Regions from separate parts of the Homo sapiens genome. Here region 1 is linked to region 2. Evidence: promoter capture Hi-C in 16 types of primary human blood cells and fetal thymus (Javierre and others, 2016). All regions are on one chromosome and are shown on one strand. Each heading gives the region's core, a stretch centred on a gene start or on the middle of the fragment in contact. The rest is flanking DNA. Distances are from core to core; before and after follow the strand shown. Region 1 overlaps SPTLC2 (serine palmitoyltransferase long chain base subunit 2). Region 2 holds the start of ALKBH1 (alkB homolog 1, histone H2A dioxygenase).

Evidence for each region. Contacts are between HindIII fragments. The CHiCAGO score rates a contact against its expected background, and 5 or more counts as called.
Region 1: a contact is called between a fragment that was not itself captured here and the fragment with the promoter of ALKBH1 in region 2, in 3 of 17 cell types (monocytes, naive CD8 T cells and naive B cells). The highest score is 8.7, in monocytes.

What each region holds. Positions count from the first base shown.
Region 1 is chr14:77,521,440-77,528,983 of GRCh38, forward strand. SPTLC2 (serine palmitoyltransferase long chain base subunit 2) reads right to left here. Exons shown (of 12, transcript NM_004863.4): 10 at 7-142. Among named protein-coding and RNA genes, the nearest start is that of ISM2, 26 kb to the left of the region's middle. The HindIII fragment of the contact is 784 bases long and covers 1,580-2,363 here.
Region 2 is chr14:77,705,580-77,713,083 of GRCh38, forward strand. It overlaps ALKBH1 (alkB homolog 1, histone H2A dioxygenase), which reads right to left and starts at 2,444. Exons shown (of 6, transcript NM_006020.3): 1 at 2,243-2,444. The coding sequence starts at 2,425. SLIRP (SRA stem-loop interacting RNA binding protein) reads left to right here and starts at 2,524. Exons shown (of 4, transcript NM_031210.6): 1 at 2,524-2,629; 2 at 5,259-5,317. The coding sequence starts at 2,533. RefSeq lists an enhancer at 2,078-2,407. The HindIII fragment of the contact is 1,367 bases long and covers 1,317-2,683 here.

The sequences.
Region 1 (7,544 bases), core at 722-3,221, 180 kb before region 2:
ACGTACCCAATTTTGGCAGGCATGTAGAGCATCAAAGGCACTACTGGAGAGTCTTCATTTCCATAGATGATGAAGCCCATCTCTTTCAGGCGTCTCCTGAAATACCTGGTGTTTTCAGCTAACTGTTGTACACACTCTTTACCTGGAAAGTCACGGTGAGAGAAAACAAAATAATCCTAAGTAAAAAGGAATGGAAAAAAGACAGTAAATCTCCTCTATCTCCATTCTATCTAATCAGTTCTGTTTCGTTTTTTTCCATTTCACCATAAAATATTTTACAGAGTAAACCATATGGAATATAAATGTAAAATGTCTCATTTTGTATTCTGTCATTCTACCTGTTAACAGCAGAAGTTATAATAATGTAAAAAACGTTTAATGGAGCGTTAGCATCCTCAAAGAATTTCAGCCATACCCCCTCACTGAGCACTCCACAAATCCCTTGACAGTAGGCAGGATATTTATGATTATCTTCATATTATAGGTGGGGAGACTCTCACCAAGGTAGTGACATGCCTACAGTTGCACAATAGTGTGTGGCACATTACAAGTAGCAAGTGGCATAGCTGCAACTAGAATTTACATCTTCTAACTTTAAGATTCATTCTAATTAACTGTGCTGCAAATAAATTTTACACATAAGACCAGAGATGAAGCCTTTAGACCCCCAAATTTTCATCTTCTGAGTTTCATTTTGTTGTTTCCTTACAATTCTTTTTTTCTTTTTCTTTCTTTTTTTTTTGAGACGGTGTCTCACTCTGTCGCCCAGGCTGGAGTGCAACGGCACGATCTTGGCTCACTGCAATCTCTGCTTCCCGGGTTCAAGCGATTCTCCTGTCTCAGCTTCCTGATAGCTGGGGTTACGGGTGCACATCACCACGCCCAGCTAACTTTTGTATTTTTAGTAGAGACAGGGTTTCGCCATGTTGGCCAGGCTGGTCTCGAACACCTAACCTCAAGTGATCTACCCACCTTGGCCTCCCAAAGTGCTGGGATTACAGACATGAGCCACCGCGCCTAGCCTGTTTCCTTAAAATTCTTACCAGACAACAGTAACATATCTGTAATAGTATAAAATCGTATCTTTAATCCTATTTTGCTCATCTTCCCTAAAACACAAATAGATTAAAACACACGTTTCTGTCTGCAATTGCCAACTGACTAAATATTTGGGCAGGTTTTGACATTATGGTAAGTCAATCTTTGAAAAGATATCCAAACAACTGTTCTGTTATACAGAGCAAAGCAATAAATTTAAAAGATCTGCTTGGAAAGGGCTAAGAACTGTTTTAGAATCTTCTCAACCATGAATACTCATGAATAGAAAAGGCTGCAGTAATTTTCATATATAGATTATAAAATCAGCAAGTTCATATTTTTAAAAGTCCAAGCATGATACATGACATAAGTTCTTATGACAAATTAACCAGACATACAGATAGCTAACAATGTCCTTAGAATCAGAATACTAACATATCCATCATTCATGGGAAGCTACTCTATATAAGTTGGCCACAAATAAGTCAAAATTAATACTCTTTATGTAGATAATTTCAAGTTGATCACAGAAAAACACTCAAGCTTAGATTAGCCTAGTGTGAGCACTGAAGAGCATCATTTATGTCATCGCTTAAGTTACAAAGAAGAAAGCAGACATTAAAGTGTGTTATATTTAAGTATGTTGGGAACTGATGAGCCAAGTCCCCTAACTTCCCCCTAGAAGTATCAATACATGCTTAATTTACATTTAGAAGATGAGACTTCTTCTGGCCATGGAGTACTAGAGGCTGGATTTATCTTCCTGCTGTAAACAATAGGAAACTGGACAAAGTACATAAACAATGACTTTTAGACATTGAACCACGGGGAATGCCAGACTGTGCTGCCTGAAGGCAGGTTGCAGGCTGCTGCACAGGGAAGGAGGGCCCAGTCTTGCCAGCTGAGGACATCTGAGATTGGAGTGGAGAGTGGTCAGTTGAGATCAGAGCTGGGGAGGCTGCGGGGGCTAGAATTTGTTGGGCAGTGTACAGGAGCAGGGAGGTGGGGTGCGATGAGAGAGCTTTAGAGATCTGCTGAAGGGTCCCTTTGAACTTTGGGAAGGGTACTGATTTCTATACGCATGAAAAGAAACTAGCAGAGGCTGGGGAAAAGATCCATCAGAAAGCAATAGGCCAAACAATTCCTGCACTCACATGGAGCTGGGAATAGTTTGTATTTTTGTCCACCAAAATATAAAGATCTTATAATATGTGGGTTATCTAACAGAGTCCTCAGAAGGGGACTCTACTCCTATCACCTTAGTAGTGGAGATAAATGAACCCTAGACTAAAAATTGGTCTGAACCCACCCTAACCTTAAAAGCAAGCTTTGAAAGGATCCTACTGATTCCAAGAACAAAGTCCAACATTACCTAAAGGAAAACAACAAGATATAGAAACTAGCAATGTAAAATTAATGTCCAACATATAATTTTAAAATTCCAGGCATTCAAAGAAACAGGAAAATATGACGTACAACCAGGGGAAAAGTCAGTCAATAAAAACCGACCAAAAATAACGGAGTATTAGCAGATATGGATGTTAAAGGCCATTATAAATATGATCTATATGTTCAAAAAGGTAGAAGAAACATGAGGAGAGAAAGGAAATATATGAAAAGGAACAAATGATTGCTAAGGCAACAATGCTGATGAATCTCAAAATATAATGTTCATTGAAATAAGCCAGACATGAGACTGCACACTGTATGAATTCGTTTGTATGAAACTCTAAAAAGACATACTGTAATGACAGAAAACAGATTCATGGTTGCCAGAAAGTATGGGAAGGCGGCTGATAGCAAAGGGGCAGAAGGGAACTTCCAGGAGGGACGATGAAAATATTCTAACCTTGATTGTGGCATGGGATTACAGGAGTGAGCCACCATGCTGCCCAGCCACCACCTTTAAAAAAAAATCACAAACCTTTTAGCTATCTAATCACAAATTAACTAGCCTCTGTTAAAAAAAAAAAAAAAAGTTTTTTCAAACTAAAAATGGAACTACCATACAATCCAGCAATCCCACTACTGCTGTTTATCCAAATAAAAGGAAATCAGTGTATCAAAGGGATGTGTGCACAGCTATGTTTACTACAGCACTATTCACAAGAGCCAAATACGGAATCATTCTAAGTATCAGCGGATGAATGGATAAAGAAAATGTGGCAGATGCACACAACGGAATACTATCCAGCCATGAAAAGAATGAAATGCTGTCATTTGCACAAGATGGATGGGACTGAAGGTCATGATGTTAAGTGAAATGAGCCAGGCACGGAAAGACACGTATCGCATGTTCTGACTCATGTGGGAGCTAAAAAAGTTGATCTCATGGAGGTAGAGAGTAGAACAGTGGTTACCAGAGGCTGGGAATGGTAGGGAAAGGGGGATTGAAGAGAGGTTGGTTAATGGGTACAAACATATAGTTAGATAGGAGGAATAAATTATAGCTTTTGATAGCACAGGATGACTACAGTTAACAATAGTTTACCGTGTATTTCAAAATAGCTAGAAGAGCTGAAATGTTCTAAACACACAGAAATGATAATGTTTGCGGTGACACATATCCAAAATACTCTGATTTGATCAGAATATTTGATACCGTATGCATCTATCAAAATATCATATGTACCCCATAAATATTATGTATCAATTTTTAAAAAAAGGAAAGCCAGGCACAGTGGTGTGATTCTGGCTACTTGGGGGGCTGAGGCAGGAGGATCTCTTGAGTCAGGAGTTTGGGGCTGTAGTGAGCTATGACTGCACCTGTAAACAGCCACTGCACTCCAGCCTGGGTAACATAGTGTGAGACTCTGTCACTTACGAAAAATGAGCCAGGCACGGTGGCTCACGCCTGTAATCCCAGCACTTTGGGAGGCCCAGACAGGCGGACCACCTGAGGTTGGGAGTTTGAGAGTAGCCTGACCAAATGGAGAAATCCCATCTCTACCAAAAATACAAAATTAGCCAGGTGTGGTGGTGCATGCCTGTAATCCCAGCTACTCAGGAGGCTGAGGCAGGAGAATTGCTTGAACCTGGGAGGTAGAGGTTGCCGTGAGCGAGACTGCGCCATTGCACTCTGCCCTGGGCAATAAGAGTGAAACTCCGTCTCGAAAAAAAAAAAGAAAAATTAAAAAAATTTAAAAAGGAGGGCTGGGCATGGTGGCTCACGCCTGTAATCCCAGCACTTTGGGAGGCTGAAGCGGGCGGATCACAAGGTCAGGAGATCGAGACCATCCTGGCTAACACGGTGAAACCCCGTCTCTACTAAAAATGCAAAAACAAAATTAGCCGGGCGTGGTGGTGGGCGCCTGTAGTCCCAGCTACCTGGGAGGCTGAGGCGAGAGAATGGCATGAACCCAGGAGGCGGAGCTTGCAGTGAGCCGAGATTATGCCATTGCACTCCAGCCTGGGTGACAGAGACTCCATCTCAAATAAATAAATAAATATATAAAAATAAAGTGGCCTGTTATCCTTTAAAATTGCTAGGCTGAACCATCAAACTGCCAACATGCTACCATTTTTGACCTTAAAGCAGGAAATTTCTTATGGTTTAACTTACTAATTTCAAAGAGAATAACAGGAAAATAAAAGCAGTAAAATAAATGTAGACAAATCAGTAAGCCCTGGCATTTACACGTTAGAAAATAGTTATCCTTTGCTCTTAAAGTGAAACTGAATCTTAACAGACAACATAGTTACCCACTTTGACTTGAGTATCATATAAAATAGCAGTTAATATTTATGCAAGAAGACCAATTGCTATTTAACGCCAGTGTAGTAGCTCAGTCCCAAGGATTTTTCACTGCAGAGTTTCAGCAAGTATCTGGTCTAATACAGACTTGAAACAAAGAAGAAAGTTTAGCACTGTTTAAAAAAATACTGCTCTTAAGAAGTTTTTATCTTTGGCTCCGAAAGAACACAGATGGAAATATAAAGAGGTCAGAATTCTTTCCTACTTTTCAAACATAAATCTTTACTTTTAAGGGTGATAAAAAGCATAAAAGCAATTTGGAGGAGAAAAATCTGTACTGACTCTTGAATTTTACAAATAAACTTAACTGTGTGGCTGTCCTTTTGGACTTCAATATGGTTTGTTAGAATAAAACTATTTTTAGGAACTCTACTGTAAAAAAATCTACAGCTTGGCATGGAAGAGACAGAGAAAAGTAAATATGTAGTTAATTTCTTGGAAAATGTAGATAACTTTAACAGGTCATTTTTAGTCTTCAACCTCTTTACAATAAATCTTATTCTCAGGAAGGAAGGAATAGATATAAAAGATCAATATGCTGTAACAGCATCATTAGATTATTTAGTTCTTTTTTTTTTTTTGAGACAGAGTCTCACTCTGTTGCCCAGGCTGGAGTGCAGTGGCGTGCTCCTGGCTCACTGCAAGCTCCGCCTCCTGGGTTCACGCCATTCTCCTGCCTCAGACTCCCGAGTAGCTGGGACTGCAGCAACCCGCCACAACACCCGGCTAATTTTTTGTATTTTTAGTAGAGATGGGGTTTCACCATGTTAGGCAGGATGATGTCGATCTCCTGACCTCATGATCCACCTGCCTCGGCCTCCCAAAGTGCTGGGATTACAGGCGTGAGCCACTGCGCCCGGCCTCTTTTTTTTTTTTTTTAATTGAGATGGAGTGTCACTCTGTTGCCCAGGCTGCAGTGCAGTGGTGCGATCTCAGCTCACTGCAATCTCTGCCTCTCAGGCTCAAGCGATTCTCCTGCCTCAGCTTCCTGAGTAGCTGGGATTACAGGCAAGTGCCACCATGCCTGGCTAATTTTTTGTATTTTTAGTAGAGACAGGGCTTCACTTTGTTGGCCAGGCTGGTCTAAAACTCCTGACCCTCAACTGATCCATCGCACCAGGCCTAGATTTAGTTCTCTTAAGGAACTAGAAGGCCTTGAAAAGGATGGAGGGTAGAGGTTGAAGGAGCGCCACAATTATCTACCTACTGATAACCACTAGATATTGATAACCTTCAATCACGTTTACAAAACAGAATTAGATTTAGGGAACTACATTAATCACTGCCAAACAGATTTAAGGTGTACCAATTGCTTTTCAGTCATTTTTAAAAGGAATATTTTATCAAGTCTTAATCCAAATTTCTCAAGATTCTCAGCCATGCATGTAATCTTAAGGTTAGAAGGAACTACTATATTATTACTGAAATAAACTCCATAAGCCCTCCTAGATAGGTGTGACTTAGAACAGACAGTGTTCTATAAATTTTCTGAACGCTCAAGACTGCTTTTTTTTTTGTTTTTTTGAAAGCCAGGAAAAGATCCATGTAATAAAGTAAGGAATATAAAGGCAGCAGACATTTTTGTCTTAAACTAGTACTATTTAGCATTATACTTCAAAGAATAGAGCATGCACTCAGCTGCTTCAGTAGTAATATGATTTCCAGTTTAGCTGATGAGCTTTTATACAACTTATACCATAACCAACAAAAACATGTTTGAGCCTGCAGCTTCAAAAATAACATTTCTGTTGTTAACTGAAATCTTTCAAAATAAAGGACACAAATATTAAGGATGTTCAGCCAGAGTTGATCTCCTAACTCATATTATACTTCATTACACAGCTCCTAATCTTCTTAGATTTCCTGAATATGCTGATATATAATCTGTCTTCCTGGGGAAAATAAAATAAAATTACTGCTACTCCTCCAACTTATACTTTCCAATTAATTACAGTGCACTGAAAGAATTTGAAATTGAAGAACTTCCCCACCCCTCTTTTCCTCTTCTTTTTTTTTTGAGATGGAGTTTCACTCTTGTTGCCCAGGCAGGAGTGCAATGGCGCGATCTCGGCTCATAGCAACCTCCGCCTCCCGGGTTCAGGCAATTCTCCTGACTCAGCCTCCCGAGTAGCTGGGATTACAGGCATGTGCCACCATGCCTGGCTAATTTCGTATTTTTAGTAGAGACGGGGTTTCTCCATGTTGATCAGGCTGGTCTCGAACTCCTGACCTCAGGGGATCTGCCCGCCTCGGCCTCCCAAAGTGCTGGGATTACAGGCATGAGGCACTGCGCCCAGCCCCCCCTTTTCTTCTTAAAGGTTATATTCTCAAAGCAGGTAAAAGTTTTCTATATCAGCTCAGGGTCCCTCAAATAGATAGCTCCAAGAATGGTTTCAGTTAGTTTTCAGCATTAACTAGGAATTAATTGACATAAAGCAGGATAAAATATGGAAAAATACTACCCATCATCTAGCTCTAATATATACTATAATAGCAAATTGTGGTTATTTCATATCTCTTTCATTTAACAATTTTTTATAAGAATTGAAGCTAACTGTCAATCTTTTACTTTAATCATCTGTTTCAAAGGTCTTATTTTTGTTATTTTTTGTTTGTTTTTTGAGACAGAGTCTCACTCTTGTCGCCCAGGCTGGTATGCAATGGTGCAATCTTGGCTCGTTGCAACCTCTGCCTCCCAGGTTCAAGAGATTCTCCTGCCTCAGCCTTCTGAGTAGCTGAGCTTACAGGCGCC
Region 2 (7,504 bases), core at 1,194-3,693:
TTAATTACTTAGAAATGAATTTAGTATTTCAGGGGCTGAAGTTTTCTTTGTATGTGAGTATCTAATGGATGGCTCATTACATTGGTTAAGAGACCCACTATGCAGTCATTGAAGTCAAAACATTAAAGGAAAAAACCTTTATTCTTCCCTGAATAGTAAACCTAGGGTCTGCCTTGCCTTAAAATATATGAAACAGGCCGAGCGGTGGCTCACACCTGTAATTCCAACACTTTGGGAAGCCAAGGCAGGTAGATCACCTGAGGTCAGGAGTTTGGGTCCAGACTGGCCAACATGGCGAAACCCCGTCTCTACTAAAAATACAAAAATTAGCCAGGCATGGTGGCGCGTGCCTGTAGTCCCAGCTACTTGGGAGGCTGAAGCAGAAGAATCATTTGAACCTAGGAGATGGAGGTTGCAGTGAGCCAAGATCACGCCACTGCACTTCAGCCTGGGTGACACAGTGAGACGCTGTCTCAGTAAAAAAAAGTATATATATTATATATACACACACATATATACACACACACATATATATATATATGAAACATTCTCTTTGAAAGAGAATGATCTTTTATCTTATCAACTTCTCCAAGTGTGGAGATTCCTGGACAAAATACCAAAAGTTTGCTGATGTATAACCAGTCTCTATAATAAAAGGGCTATATGAAACCCTCTGACAGTACTATCAGCTGAGTTTTCCAGGTACCTAGGCACTGGTAAAACACTTTTAAGCATTTTGTCATGATTTCTTTAATAGGCCATACTTAATACTGCACTATAATTCAACACACTCTCAGAGGTGATGTTAGTGGACCTATTCTATCATATGCTAAACTGAACGACACCACTGAGCTTTTATAAAAGGTTTTCTCTTTCCTCCCTTGCCAGACTGTTAACCACCACTTTCCCCACCAGTCTCATCAGCTGGCTTGTAATAGTAACTTCTCTTAATTACTACTTTAATCTGCTTTGAGCTGAGGAACTAAACACCCAAGCTTTCATGTACTCAACACATACTGTACTTAGTACTGTTTTAGGTCCTGTACTAGACACATAATGGCTCATTCCCTGATGGCTGACATTCTAAAAAGCATGTACATATTATGGTAAAATGTAGGTAAAAGGAGCTGAATGAGAGTCTGAAGCGCTCTGGAGAGAAAAAGTATATTATTATTGGGGTGTGGACTTTCTGTATTTTGACAACTCTAAGACCACTTTTTTTCCCTAACAAATGAAGGTGCTGAAAAGCTGAGCTCAAGTATGCAATCATTAACACTTAATACTGTAGCATCCCAATTTTATCAGAGCTGTTAGGAAGCTTGGAAAGAATGCCTCATCTAGACATCTGTGGACAACACCAAGAGCAAATTAAGGGACTGCATATCCTCAACGTTAAAGTGGATTGTAAAGAAAGAAAATATAAATTGGACTACAGTTTTGGTTCCCCGTTTTCCCTCTTGCCTGTTATGTTCCCTTAAAAAAATAATTTTTAAAAAATCTATTTACTTGAGAACAGGTTATGAGACTGGCTAATTTTTTGTATTTTTGGCGGAAACGGGGGTCTTGCCATGCCCCAGGCTGGTCTCGAACCCCTGGGTTCAAGCGATCCACCCGCCTCGGCCTCCGAAGTGCGGGATTACAGGCTTGAGCCACCGCTCCCGGACTGTGTTCCCCTTCTTAATCTCCATGGGGAAAAGCTGAGAGAGAGAACGGTGCCTGTATTCCATATATACTTGTTTGCCATTTATTTTCAACACGGAGGGATTCTCAGAATCCTTCAATGACCTCCTTCTAAAAGAGCCAGAGGAGAAGACAGGGACTAGTTTTACGCACAGTGGCTTAACAAACAGCGCCGCATCCCTGTCAGTTCTGGGATTCCTCGGGAGTGGTTTTTTTTAAGCTGCAGAAGTCTACCCTACCGTCTACAAAGACGTTCTATGGGGTTTTACAAAAACCCAAACAGAAATGTGAGGAGACAGTTACAGTAAGAAATAAACACGGATTCCCAGGCTCTTTTGACTGAGCGCCCCCGCCAGGAATGGCCGCCTAAAGAAACAGGCATCTCAACGCTTTATTGCTAAGTGTGACGGTTAGTGGGGAGTTCGACTCTGCAGCCAAAGGAGGTCAGGAATCGTTCAATAACAATCGGTCTGGAGGTGAAAAGAGGCGAAGAAGACACGTAAGTCCCTCCAAGACGCGGGGCAAAGCGATGGAGAGACGCGCGCCACTCCTCTCTCTGTACCTTTTGGGCACCAGGACCCTTGCCACGGGCTGCGTGGGCCGCCGAGAAGTCGATGACCCCTTCCAGGTCTGCGGTCCCGGGCCGGCTCTGACGGTAGAAGCGGAAAAGTTTCCGAAAGGCGTCCTCCCCGGGCTCAGTCGCCAGAGTCGCCACAGAGCCCACGGCCGCTGCCATCTTCCCCATCTCGCGGCCTATACCCTCTGATCCGGAAGCAGATTCTCTCGTGTTCCGGATCCGGAAATTTTTTCCGGGGCCGCGACCTCGGCTCGAGAAGGTGCTTTAGTCTGAAGATGGCGGCCTCAGCAGCGAGAGGTGCTGCGGCGCTGCGTAGAAGTATCAATCAGCCGGTTGCTTTTGTGAGAAGAATTCCTTGGACTGCGGCGTCGAGTGAGTGATGGAGATGTGGGAGTAGTGGAATTTTTAGGTCCAAGTGATCCTCAAAGCTTCTGCTTTTTGCAGGGTACTTAAGTCAGCGTGGTGGCTGAATTAGGAGACTGCTCCTGAGCATGCAAGTGAGCAGAAAGAAATTTTGTTTGCAGTTAACCGTTTAGGGATGTCCCTTGAGCTTTTGGGGTCACGAATGCACCGGCTCTTGCCTTTAGGAGTGATTTGGTGTAAAGATTTATTACTTGGTAACCAAGATTTACAATTTAGAAGGGATAATTTTGACTGTAGTGTGGAGGATGGATTCAAGGTGGCAAGATTGTAGGCGTGCAGAGGAGCTAAAAGGCAATTTCATTAATTTACTTAAAACGTGAGGACCTGAATTAGGGCGATGGTAGAAGGATGGTGGTCAGATGCATTAATGTTTTAAAAGCAAATTAGATGCCGTTTCGTGATGGCTTAAGTGGGAGAAGTGTACGGAATAAAGGAAAGGGAGAAATGATTTCTGGGTTTTTAGCATTGGTGAATTGTTTGTTTAGAAGTTAGGAGCAGGCCAAGAGAAGATGAGTAAAGTTTGAATGTGTTGACTTTGAGAAACTTGTGAGGTTTCCGTCAGGCAATTGGACAAAGGTTGTATATCATTGTGGCTGAGAAGTGGACTCCGAAGCTAGACCGTTGGGGTTAGAATTCCAACTTGGCCATTTAATCGTTGTTATCACTTGAATAACTGAAGTTAGTATGGGAAAAGGGCTCACAACTGGGCCTCAGTTTACTCATCGATAAAATGGAGTCAATAATACCCAACTCATAGGATTGTTGAGAGGATTGAGTTTATATGCAAACTTCTTAGACTTGTGTTAGATACAGTGTAAGTACTCAGCAAATGATAGTTATTTTCACGGTAACTAAAATTGAAACTTACGGGAGAGGCCTAGTCTACAGATAAAGGTTGGAATAATTAGTTCTGAAATCTTTCACCACCTTCAATTTTTGTCAGCTGCAGTTTTGAGATGAGGTTTTTATATTTGCTTACCAACATGTAAACATTCGTGGTCACTCTTTTTGTAGATATTCATGTTTCAGGTCAACCCCTGGAAACAAAATGGAGCAAGATTTAGTTTCTTCTAAGTTTTTAGTGGCTCAGATGTGAGTAGTAGAATGGGAAATAGGTTGGTTTGTGCCCCGTGTTTTAAACATGTGGTTGGTGAAGACCAAGCCCAGTAAAGTCTCCCGTAGTCCCTGTGAAACTTTATGGAAAGGCTGAGGAGTTTCATTAGCATCTTGCGGATGCAAGTTTCCAGACAATAAAGGGCTAGTTTAAAACCCTTAAAAAGAGTCAGCATTATGTACAGCTTCGAAACAGTTTCTCTTTGTTGTTCCATTGATTCAGCAAATATTTATTTGAGTATCTATTCTGTGGTAGGCATTGTTCTTGGTGCTTGCAGCTGTTTTTCCTTCACCATTTTAGGCAATTTAGGAAGAGGGTTACCTTCCAGAGCTGGTTTGTTTTGAAATCAGTGTCTTCTAGGACTTTAATTATCTGGTATAAAACATATGTTTAACATTATTTTGTTCTCCAGTATCATATTCTGTGAGACCTTGATCTTGCCAGTTGGTTTGACTTAACCATTAGAGCCCTTCAAAATTTAGTCTCTGTGGATTGTTGGAAGGATTAGTGGACTTTTACTTATTCATTTAGCCAATATTGAGGCCCTGCTGTTTATTGGTCACTGTAAACATAGTGGTTTATATGCTGAGGGAGCTTACAATTAGTGGTGGGGATGAAGAGACTTAGAACAAATATAGGCAATTGTTGAACCAGTGAGGTTTTGGTGAACTAGGAGAACTAAATAGATATTATAAAAAGTAAATCAGTGAAGTACAAGCACTGTAGTTCAGAAGAGAAACAGATCGTGTAGTTTTTAGTCTTTAAGATTATATACTCTAAATCTTTGAAGTCTCACAGGGCTGGTACATTGTCTTGTACTGTGATAGGAGCCCAATAAAGTAATACTCAGTGGATGTACTTGGTTTGGGTCTTGAAGGATAGTTATAGTGTTACAAGTTAGCCAGGGGGAGATAGGATTACCAACATATGGAGGGGAGAGAACAACATATGCAAAGAGGGTAACCCGCAGGACAGATAAAGATAATTCAATTAGTTGTACTAGAGAGTAACTAGGGGCTAGCAGTGGGAAATAAGGCAGGAAGGGTAGGTGAGGGCAACTCAACACATTTTACTAAATTGTGAAAGACCAGTAAGTTGGGATTTTATTTGGAAATCTTCAGTATACCGGGAAACACACTGGATTGTAATTTGTCTTTTTCTTCATTGTGATCTGCTCACAGGGATCATAGTCCACATAGCACAGTAACTGGTATGAAAACACTCGATATTTGCTGAGGATGGAGACTGCAGCCAACTCAACAACTTCTCTGTCCATCTCACCACCAAGTCTGGTACATTATGGCTTTATAGTCAGTACCATAGCTGCTTCCTAAATCTTAAGCCTTTAAGGAAATGCAAAGTAGTTCCTGTCCACAAGAAATCTGGTGACCCTGTCTTTCTACAGTCTAAGATAGAGAATCCAAAATATAGTAACTACTTTTAATGTTTTCTTCTGCCACACAGGTCAGCTGAAAGAACACTTTGCACAGTTCGGCCATGTCAGAAGGTGCATTTTACCTTTTGTAAGTATTAAGGAAAAGTAGGTGGGAGGTGGGGATGGCTAATGGGTACAAAAAAAATAGAATGAATAAGACCTATTTGATAGTACAACAGGGTGACTATGGTCAATAATAATTGTACATTTTAAAATAACTCAGAGTGTAATTGGATTATTTGTAACTCAAAGGATAAATGCCTGAGGGGATGGATACCCCATAAGTCAAAGGATAAATGCTTGAGGGGATAGATACCCCATGCTCCATGATGTGCTTAATTTACATTGCATGCCTATATCAAAACATCTCATGTACTCCATAATAAATATACATATTTATATATATAAATATATAAATATATACACCTAATAATATATAAATATATATAAATATATACCCAAATAAATATATACACCTACTATACACTCACAAAAATTGTTGAAAAAAAAGCTTAAAGTGTTTTAAAAAATTCTTATCTTGCAACAGGGTCTCGCTCTGTCCCCCTGCAGGGGTGCAGTGGCCTGATCTCACTGCAGCCTCTGCCTCCCAGGCTTAAGTGATCTTCCTGCCTTGGCCTCCTGAGTAGCTGGGACTATAGACATGTGCCACCATGCCCAGCTAACTTTTTTGGTATTTTTTAGTGGAGACAGGGTTTCGCCATACTGTCCAGACTGGAAAATTTTTTTAATTTTCATTTTCTTTAAGAGACAGGGTCTTGTTCTGTCACCCCAGGTGGAGTGCAGTGATGCAGTCATGGCTCACTGCAACCTCTGCCTCCCAGGCTTAGGTGATCCTCCCACCTCAGCCTCCTGAGTAGCTGGGACTACAGGCATGCACCACCACACCTGGGTAATTTTTGTATTTTTTGTAGAGATGGGGTTTCGCCATGTTGCTTATGCTGGTCTCGTCGAACTCCTGGGCTCAAGCTATCCGCACACCTCGGCCTCCCAAAATGTTGAGATTACAGGTGTGAGCCACTGTGCTGGCTTATTTTTGTGGAGATGGGGGTCTTGCCATGTTGCCCAGGCTGATCTTGAACTCCTGGCTTCAAGCAATCCTCCTGCATTGGCCTCCCAAAGTGCTGGGATTACAGGCGTGAGCCACTGTGCCCGGCCTACAGTCTTTATTGATTACATTTTGAGTGATACTTGATTAAAAAGTGAAAAAGCTTTATCATAGGTATTTGTGTTAGTTTTTTTATTGTTGTATAACAAAATACCACAAGCGTAATGGCTCAAAAACAACACATCTCTCACAGCTGAGCACAGTTTAGCTGGGTCCTCTCCTTAGGATCTCACATAGCTATATATTCCAGGTGTCAGCTGGGGCTGTGGTGTGTCTCATCAAAGGGTCAACTGGGGAAAAAGACTGACTTGCAAGCTCCCTCATGTGGTTGGCAAAATTCCTTTTTTTTTTTTTTTGAGATGGAGTCTTTCTCCCTTGCCTAAGCTGGAGTTGCAGTGGTGCAGTCTCAGCTTACTGCAACCTCTGCCTCCTGGGTTCAAGCCATTCTCCTGCCTCAGCCTCCTGAGTAGCTGGGACTACAGGCATGCGCCACCACGACCGGCTAATTTTTTTTTTTTTTTTTTTTTTGAGACGGAGTCTCACTCTGTGGCCTAGGCTGGAGTGCAGTGGCGCGATCTCGGCTCACCACAAGCTCTGCCTCCTGGGTTCACGCCATTCTCCTGCCTCAGCCTCCTGAGTAGCTGGGACTACAGGCGCCCGCCACTACGCCCGGCTAATTTTTTGTATTTTTAGTAGAGATGGAGTTTCGCTATGTTGGCCAGGCTGGTCTCGAACTCCTGACCTCAAGTGACCCGCCCGCCTGGGCTTCCCAAAATGCTGGGATTACAGGTGTGAGCCTTCATGCCCGGCCATAATTCATCTTTAACTGTAGGACTGAGGTCTGTTTTCTTGTTGACCTTTGGCTCTGAGTTGGGAGCTGCTCTCACCTAGGAACTCCCTGCAGTTCCTTGTTACCTAGTTTATCTGTAGGCTGTCTTACAATATGGCAGCTTGCTTCTTTAAAGCCAGCAAGGGCTTCTCCAGTCTGCTTAAGATGGCATCTTATACAGAACATAATCACAGGAGTGACATCCCATTACTTTCGCTGTATTCTTTTGGTTAGAAGCAAGTCAGGTTTCTCCTCCACCCAAGGAGGGGAGGAGATTATATAGGGTGTAACATGGGGAATGCATGGAGATCATGGGGCCC